Linked DNA regions of Homo sapiens: all the other regions are linked to region 3. Evidence: promoter capture Hi-C in human tissues and cell types (Jung and others, 2019). All regions are on one chromosome and are shown on one strand. The core of a region is centred on a gene start or on the middle of the fragment in contact, and the rest is flanking DNA. Distances in the headings are between cores, read along the strand shown.

Region 1 (2,965 bases), core at 244-2,743, 310 kb before region 3:
GGCTAGTTCTCTGATTTTTTTGTTTGTTTGTTTGTTTTTGAGATGGAGTCTTTTTTGCTCTGTCACCTACACTGGAGCGCAATGGTGCAATCTCTGCTCACTGCAACCTCTGCCTCCTGTGTTCGAGCAATTCTCCTGTCCTGGCCTTCTGAGTAGCTGGGATTACAGGTGCCCGCCACCATGCCTGGCTAATTTTTTGTATTTTCAGTAGAGACGGGGTTTCACCATGTTGACCAGGCTGGTCTTGAACTCCTGACCTCAGGTGATCCACCTGGCTCGGCCTCCCAAAGTGCTGGGATTACAGGCATGAGCCACCATGCCCAGCCAGTTCTCTGATCTTGTCCTCCAGTTTTTATGTGTAACTGAGGCTGAGCTCTCAAGTTCAAATGGTCTTTGAATAAAGCTAAATGCAGGCCGGGTGCGGTGGCTTATGCCTGTAATCCCAGCACTTTGGGCGGCCAAGGCAGGCGGATCACAAGGTCAGGAGTTCGAGGTTATCCTGGCCAACATAGTGAAACCCCGTCTCTACTAAAAATACAAAAGATTAGCCGGGCGTGGTGGCAGGCACCTGTAATCCCAGCTACTCGGGAGGCTGGGGCAGGAGAATGGCTTGAACCCGGGAGGTGGAGGTTGCAGTGAGTTGAGATCCTGCCATGGCACTCCAGCCCGGGTGACAGTGCGAGACTCTGTCTTTAAAAACAAAAAAAAAAGAATTGCTAAATGCAGTATTCTTTGGTGTTCGCTGTGGGAAATGTGTTCTGATGAGAGGGAGGCAATCCATAATGTGCCCCTTTGTATGCAGGGTGGGCAAAACACTGCTTCCAACTAGTTACGTCTAAGATACTAGGTTATCCCACTGGTTACCAAACAACTCAACTATGGTTTGCTGCCTTCCATAGCTGGCCCTGTCCTTAAATCCCAACATCGTCTGAAAATAATATAGAAGCTTTTGAGACTGTCTTGTTTCTACCCACTCACATTCCAGTTATGGGACCAGGCGGGCGTGGGAGAAGAAACGGGATCGTCAAAGTGGGACTGTTCCGTGTGGCATGATGGCAATTTCAAGCAAGGAATGTTGCTGAATGCTCAGAGCCTGCCCCAGGACCAAAAGCTTTTCATGAACTTGGGTTTCATTTGTATTTGAACATCAGTCATCTCTCTTGGGGTCCTCTCTTGAAAGCTACTTTTGCCCAGTAGGCTAGAAAGTGGGGCACCGTAGGTTTAATAGCAGCATGCAGGGATGACAGAGTATTAAAAACACTTTTTAAAAGTCATTCTTACTAGTTTTTGTCATGAAAAAAAAAAGAATTCATTCTAATTGTAACAGGCCAAGTAATACAAGGATATATAAGGAAAATATGTTGTTGTTGTTTTCAAACTGCCTCCTGGCCAGGCACAATACTTGTATCTGTAATCCCAGCACTTTGGGAGGCTGAGGTTGGTGGATCGCTTGAGGCCAGGAGTTCAAGACCAGCCTGGGCAACGTGGCAAAACCCCATCTAGTCCTGTAAACATAAAATTACATTTTTTGCTGAAATACAAAAAATACAAAAATTAGCTGGGTGTGGCAGCACATGCTTAAAATAGAGCATGGCACATTAATATTCTACACATGTTTAAAATACTAATAAAATAGGCCAAGCATGATGGCTCATGCCTGTAATCCCAGAACTTTGGGAGGCTGAGGCAGGTGGATCACCTGAGGTCAGAAGTTCATGACCAGGCTTGGCATCATAGCGAGACCCTGTCCCTACAAACAATAATTAAAAATTTGCTGCGGTGGAGTACACCTGTAGTCTCAGCTACTCTGGAGGATGAGGTGGGAGGATGGTTTGAGCCCAGGAAGCTGAGGCTGCGGTGAGCTAGCGTTTGTGCCACTGCACTTTAGCCTGGGTGACAGAGTAAAACCCTTTCTCAAAAAATTAAAATGAGGCTGGGCTCAGTCATTCACTTCTGTAATCCCAGCACTTTGGGAGGCCAAAGCGGGAAGATGGCTTGAGCCCAGGAGTTTGTGAGCAGCCTGGGCAACGTAGTCAGACCCCATCTCTACAATAAATAAAATTAGCCAGGCATGGTGGCATGTACCTGTAGCCCCAGCTACTCAGGAGGCTGAAGCAGGAGGATTGCTTGAGCCCCGAAAGCCAAGGCTGCAGTGAGCAGTGTTTGCACCACTGCATTCCACCCTAGGTGACAGAGACCTGTCTCAAAAAGCACACAAATAAAATTAAATAAAATCTGAATAAAATAGTTCATAAAAGCTAATTGAAGCTTAGTTGAGGCTGCAGTTTTTGATGATGGTGATGATATTGTAATGAAAAGACTTTCCCAGCTGGGCACAGTGGCTCACACCTATAATCCCAGCAGTTTGGGAGGCAGAGGCGGGCAGATCACTTGAGGTCAGGAGTTCGAGACCAGCCTGGCCAACATGGTGAAACCTTGTCTCTACTAAAAATACAAAAATTAGCTGGGCGTGGTGGTGTGCACCTGTAATCCCCGCTACTCGGGAGGCTGAAGCAGGAGAATTGCTTGAATCTGGGAGGCAGAGGTTGCAGTGAGCCCAGATTGCACCATTGCACTCCAGCCTGGGTGACAGAGTGACACTCTGTCTCAAAAAAAAAAAAGACTTTCCCACATGGAGATGGCCAGTAGTGGGGAGTGGGGTCTTAGCTTCTTTTGTTGGGATTTGGTTTTTACACCAAGTCACCAAATAAGTTTATGAAAGGTGGGCATACTGGGTTAAAGAACACTTAGACCCTTGTTAGCTTTATTTTTGTTAGCTTTTTTTATGGGCATGTTGAAATATACCCAGTCCCCGTATTCTGATCCTCCAGTTTCAACATTTTGCCATTCTTCTTTCCTCCCACTTGCTGGGCTCAGAGACAACCCAGCCCTTGCCAGCGTGACAGTGAGCTTCCCAGAGCCTTTCTGGAGCTGAAGAACCTTTCAATCTTTCCTACAATTTCCT
Region 2 (3,034 bases), core at 201-2,700, 480 kb before region 3:
GGTAATTTTTTTGGTATTTTTTGTAGAGAATGGGTCTCATCATGTTGCCTAGACTGGTTTAGAACTCCTGGGCTCAAGCAATCCTCCCACCTTGGCCTCCCAAAGTGCTGGAATTACAGGTGTGAGCCACCACTCCTGACCTCTCATTTTTTACTGTAAAAAAAAAATTTACTTTGGGAGGCTGAGGCGGGGAGATCACAAGGTCAGGAGTTCAAGACCAGCCTGACCAACATGGTGAAACCCCAACTCTACTAAAAATACAAAAAAATTAGCCAGGCATGGTGGCACGCACCTGTAATCCCAGCTACTCAGGAGGCTGAGGCAGGAGAATCACTTGAACCCGGGAGGCAGAGGTTGCAGTGAGCTGAGATCACGCCACTGCACTCCAGCCTGGGCAACAGAGCGAGACTCTGTCTCAAAAAAAAAAAAATATATATATATATATATAAATTTTGAAATGCATATAAAATAATAAAAATTTACTTATCAATAATGTTAAACTTTTCTAAACTGCTAATACTAATCAATAGTTTTTGTTCAACCATTCTAGAAAAAAGACTAAATTATTTTTCTGCTCTCTCTACAGAGAATATTGTAAAATCATTGTTATATGAAGGGATTACAGGTGCGAGCCACTGCACCTGACCTCCTTCTCAATTTCTTTTCTTTCTTTCTTTTGTTTGTTTGTTTGTTTGAGACAGAGTCTAGAGTCTTGCTCTGTTGCCCAGGCTGGTGTGCAATGGTACGATCTCGGCTCACTGCAACCTCTACCTCCGAGGTTCAAGCGATTCTCCTGCCTCAGTCTCCCAAGTAGCTGGGATTATAGGCACATGCCACTGCGCCTGGCTAATTTTTTATTTTTAGTAGAGATGGGGTTTCACCATGTTAGTTAGACTGGTCTCGAACTCCTGACCTCAGGTGATTCACCCGCCTCAGCCTCCCAAAGTGCTGAGATTACAGGCGTGAGCCACCGTGCCCAGCCCTCCTTCTCAATTTCTATTCAGAAATAAAATAAAAATCTTATTGCCTTCCAAGAGGCAAACACTCTAAGAGGTAGTTTATGTCCTTTCTGCATGTTCTTTTATTTTTTTTTGGAGACTCTTTTCTTGCTCTGTTGCCCAGGCTAGAGTATAGTGGTACTATCATGACTCACTGCAACCTCGACCTCCTGGGCTCAAGCCATCCTGCAGCTTCAGCCTCCTGAGTGGCTGAGACAACAGGCACACACCACCACACTCAGCTAATTTTCGTATTTTTTTGTAGAGGCGATATTTCACCATGTTGCCCAGACTGGTCTCAACTCCTGGGCTCAAGCAATCCGCCCACTTTTGTCTCCCAACGTTCTGAGATTACTGGCATGAGCCACCTTGCCTCTAGCCCGAACTATGAATTTTTCCTGCAGATACTGAGATGATCATATTTTTCTCTGTTAACCAGGGAATATGGTGCATTACATGAAAAGATTTTCTGCTGTTGAAATGCCCTTGCCTTCCTGGGATAATCAATTGCATTTATTTTCTTTCTTTTTTTTTTGTTTTGTTTTTTGAGACAGAGTCTTGCCGTGTCACCCAGGCTGGGCTGCAATGGTGCAGTCTTGGCTCACTGCAACCTCCGCCTCCCAGGTTTAAGCAATTCTCCTGCCTCAGCCTCCTGAGTAGCTGGGATTACAGGCGCCCTCCACTATGCCTGGCTAATTTTTGTATTTTTAGTAGAGACGGGGTTTCACCACGTTGGCCAGGCTGGTCTCAAACTGCTGACCTCGTGATCCGCTCGCCTCAGCCTCCCAAAGTGCTGAGATTACAGTCGTGAGCTACCGTGCTCGGCCAATTGCATTTATTTTCTATTGTGAGTTTCTTTTCTAGCTCCCTGTCTCAGTCCATGCCTTGGAGGGACAATGACATTTCCTGTCTTGGTTCCTTGTCAAAAACTCCAGTTTCTTAGTTGGAATTTTCTAGAAGCTTCTGGAAACTTGGTTTGCTTATTAGTGATGTGATGGGATTGGTCAAGAGGCGTCAGGAGAGAACCTGGTGCTTTAGGCTGTAGAATCAGGTGAAAGCCAGGTTGTGAGCAAGTAGCAACATCCAAAGTTACCTACTTTTGTTTTTTAGCAACAGAATTCAAATTCTCTGCCCTTGTCTGGAAAGTTTATTCTGTCTCATAGATACTTTTTTTGTGAAAAGTGTAACTTTGGCTAGGCGCCGTGGCTCACGCCTGTAATCCCAGCACTTCGGGAAGCGGGCAGATCACGAGGTCAGGAGATCGAGCCCGTCCTGGCTAACACAGTGAAACCCTGTCTCTACTAAAAATACAAAAAATTAGCCGGGCGTGGTTGCAGGCGCCTGTAGTCCCAGCTACTCAGGAGGCTGAGGCAGGAGAATGGCCTGAACCCGGGAGGCGGAGCTTGCAGTGAGCCGAGATCCTGCCACTGCACTCCAGCCTGGGTGACAGAGCGAGACTCCATCTCAAAAAAAAAAAAAAAAGAAAAGTGTAACTTTATCATTTTGTGTTTTGACCACTCCCTAAGGGCCAGACACTGTGCTCAGTTTTTTATATGCCTTACTATTAATGATGCCAGTTACTATGTACTGATCTTTTCCCCAGTTCTAGGCACTGTGATCATTGTTCTGCAAATAGCATTTTATTTAATCCCCTATAGGGTAGACATTAATCACCCTATAGGGTAGGCATTAGCTCTATTCTATGCATGAGAAAACTGCGACTGAGAGGCTAACTTGCCAGTGGTCACAAGACAGAGCCCAGGTTCCAAGTCGAATTTGTCTCATTGCGGAGCCTTTGCTATGAACCATCACTATACATGCTCTGGGAAACTGGCTTTGTCAGCCCAAACATGGCATCTAGGAAATGGCCTGTAAACTCCCATGATCAGTGTTATTAAGAACCGTTAGCTCCGTGTGACCAGTGCATGACCAAGCATTGCCAAGTGCGATTGGCTGGAGTCATTTGTGGTCTGATTGATCTCAGTGTCAGCTGTGACACATGTTCACATGGGATGTCTGCAGTAATAACTCCCTTA
Region 3 (3,001 bases), core at 62-2,561:
GCTGGAGTACAGTGGCATAATCTTGGCCCACTGCAACCTCTGTCTCCTGGGTTTAAGCGATTCTTCTGCCTCAACCTTCCCAGTGGCTGGGACTACAGGCACGTGCCACCATGCCTGGCTAATTTTTGTATTTTTTAGTAGAGATAGGGTTTCACCATATTAGCCAGGCTGGTCTCTAACTTCTGACCTCGTGATCCGCCCACCTCGGCCTCCCAGAGTGTTGGGATTACAGGCGTGAGCCTGCACCCGGCCCTGGCTAATTTTTTAATTTTAATTTTTGTAGAGACGGGGGAAGTCTCGCTTTGTTGCCCAGGCTGGTCTTGAACTCCTGGCCTCAAGCGATCCTCCATCTTCAGCCTCCCAAAGTGCTGGGACTACAGGTGTGAGCCACTGTGCCTGGCCAATAATGTAAGATGGGATTGTGTGGAGTAGGTGTGCCTGGGGTCTTTGCTTGCCTGCGGGGACTGAGGTGTGAGGTCTGTGGCCCAGACTGAGCAATGGTGGGCAGGCAAGTCCCTGAGCCCCTAAAACTTGCGAGAGGAGAAGTTTATAGACTGCAGCTCAGGTGCCTATAAATTTGTTGCAGCTTGGGAAGAAGTGATAGAAATTATATCAGGTGTATTTGGAAAACAGGTAAACTCTGTTTTTTGGTTTTTTTTTTTTTTTTTTTTTTTTTTTTTTTTGGAGACGGAGTCTCGCTCTGCTGCCCAAGCTGGAGTGCAGTGGTGCGATTTCAGCTCACTGCAACCTCCACCTGCGGGGTTCAAGCGATTCTCCTGCCTCAGCCTCCCGAGTAGCTGGGATTACGGGCATGGTGCCCGTAACGCCGAAAGTGCTGAGATTACAGGCTTGAGCCACGGCGCCCGGCCACTCATTTTTTAAAAACTAGTTATTAATTATAATTTCTCTTCAAGTTTTCCTGAGATGTAAAAACTCATCGCCTTCAGCTGGTTCTAAACTTCTTGTCTCTGCTAACAACTCTCCCCCCTCCTCGATCTCACCCCACCCCAGTGCACCCCAACTCACTTCATCTCACTTTACTCGAGTCTAGCACTATCTTTTAGGGACCTGAAAACTACTGTCGATAAGGTCAGTTGGGAATTTAGGAGGTCATGGATGTCGGAAATAAAGGTGTGAAAAAGAAGAGGAGGAATTGTTTTGGCTTTAAGACACCGGAACCTCCAAGGTTCCTACAAAACCGTTTGCAGCTTTTGCAAACCGCCTTAAAGTCATCAGCGCCCCACTGCGGAATTCAAAGCTAAGCTGTCACAATTGTTAACACCTTCTTTGACCAGCCTTTTTACATTTGACAATTCTCTTCAGCGCCTCTTTCCTGCCAGCAGGAAGGTTTTGCTGCCTTGGCTTTCGGGAGCCCCCTAGACAGCGAACTGCCCCTTCGCGTGCAGAAGTCGGGGAAGAGTGCTCTCAGCTCGCCTTCCTTGCAGGGTGAGTAGGTTTTGCGGGTTAGAGAGCGGGGCGTGGGGGCGGGGAGGGAGAGTAACAATTTTGGAAGTCCCTGCGTGGTATCTGGAAAGTTAACGACGCTTCAGGTTCTAGGTTGAGCCCAATGACCGTCTTGCCTTGGCAGCTGGTCCCAGGGCGATTGCAGAGCCGCGTGGCCTTCGGCCCCACTCGGGGGACCCAGCTTCGGAGAGGGCGCAGGGGCTGCGAGTCTTGCGAGCCGGAGCCGCGTCCACCCGGGACTAGGCGTCCCCGCCGAGCGCTGGCTTGTGGCGCTCCCTGGGACCGCGCGGGGTCGGGGGTGCGCCCGCGGGGGCCCTCCCACTCTGGTCAACTTTCCCGGCCCCAGGGCCGGGGGAGGCGCCTCTCCTGGCGGGCACGCGCCGGGTACTTAAGGGCGGCTCGGCTGGGCAGGCGGCAGTCGGAGCGCGCGGCGGCGCGGAGCGGAGCGGGAGGAGGGGCATGGAGCCGCCGCGGGCCTGCTGAGCTCCGGAGCGCGGCAGCCGGCGGCACGGTGAGCGCGGGCCGGCCGGCACCCAGGAGGGGAGGGCCGCGCGGGGCTGCGCCGAGGCCGGGGCGCGCCGGGTGGCAGGGGTGCCTCTCGCCGAGCCCCCCGCACCCGGCCAGCTCCCAGCCCTGCGGGCGCCGCGTCCGGCGCGGGGAGGCGGGTTGGGGGCGGCGGCAGCCCCGGGCTTCCCGGCGGCCGTTCCTGCAGCCCCCTCCCCACTGACCCCTCCTCCCTTTCTTCCTGCATCCTCTCCTCTTCCAGCCTCGCCTCCCTCCTCCCCGGCGGCTCCTGTTTTGTGAATGAATTAGGAGGCGGACGCCGGTGCGGGGCTCCAGGCTGGCTGGGGTACCCCTCCCCCGCACCTTCTACGACCTCCCGGGGGTTTGCACCTGTCCGGGCACCAAGGTACCAGGCGCCCACGTTCCTGCGGGTTAGCCGGGCCGCGGCAGCACGTGTCCGGGGGAGTGGGCTCCCCTCCCCTGGCCGGCCTGGAGGGGCCCGGAGGGCGGCCGGGCACAAGAGGAGGAGCCCCGTTGGGCGCACAAGTTTCCATGCCGCTGCGTGTGGCCCTGCCGCGGGGCGCACCTGTCAGCGGGAGAGACGCTGCACACCAGCAGCCCCTCAAAGTTTCGGAGGCTTGATGGAGAAGCGTGCGTCCTTGACTGGGGGTTCTCCTTCCGTAGTCCTGGGAGCCGGACTTGAGAGCGCCCCCAACCTTGTGCCCTTGAAAGCCGAGTGCGCGTTAGTTTGCCTGGGCTGGGCTCCCGTGGATGAGCGAAGGGCATGAGGAGGCGGCGGTCCAGGCTGTAGGATCACCCCACAGCCTCTGCCGGCTTGGGGTGACACAGCCCCCCGCCCCAGGTCTGGGCAGGAGAACCTCGACCACAGCCTGCACCAGCGCCTGATTGCACGTGGGGTATCTGGCTGAGGGACATTTTGGGGGCCTCTATTTGGGGGTGGGGGTAGTAACCTGGGTAATGCCTCTAATTCCTGCGGGGGAGGGGTCCCGCCCAGGGAAGGAGAGGGCCGGCT

The links. Contacts are between HindIII fragments. The study calls those that stand out against the background at their distance.
Region 1: a contact is called between a fragment that was not itself captured here and the fragment with the promoter of HAS3 in region 3, in 2 of the 25 tissues and cell types used here (dorsolateral prefrontal cortex and mesenchymal stem cells).
Region 2: a fragment that was not itself captured here is called in contact with the fragment with the promoter of HAS3 in region 3 in 2 of the 25 tissues and cell types used here (dorsolateral prefrontal cortex and lymphoblastoid cells).

The regions. Positions count from the first base shown.
Region 1 is chr16:68,795,470-68,798,434 of GRCh38, forward strand. All of the region lies in intron 2 of CDH1 (cadherin 1), which reads left to right. Among named protein-coding and RNA genes, the nearest start is that of TANGO6, 47 kb to the right of the region's middle. RefSeq lists enhancers at 1-236, 237-737. The HindIII fragment of the contact is 4,503 bases long and covers 1-2,965 here.
Region 2 is chr16:68,623,834-68,626,867 of GRCh38, forward strand. No RefSeq gene overlaps it. Among named protein-coding and RNA genes, the nearest start is that of CDH3, 20 kb to the right of the region's middle. The HindIII fragment of the contact is 4,710 bases long and covers 1-3,034 here.
Region 3 is chr16:69,104,342-69,107,342 of GRCh38, forward strand. HAS3 (hyaluronan synthase 3) reads left to right here and starts at 1,312. Exons shown (of 4, transcript NM_001199280.2): 1 at 1,312-1,446. RefSeq lists an enhancer at 977-1,525 and a silencer at 1,659-1,938. The HindIII fragment of the contact is 9,378 bases long and covers 1-3,001 here.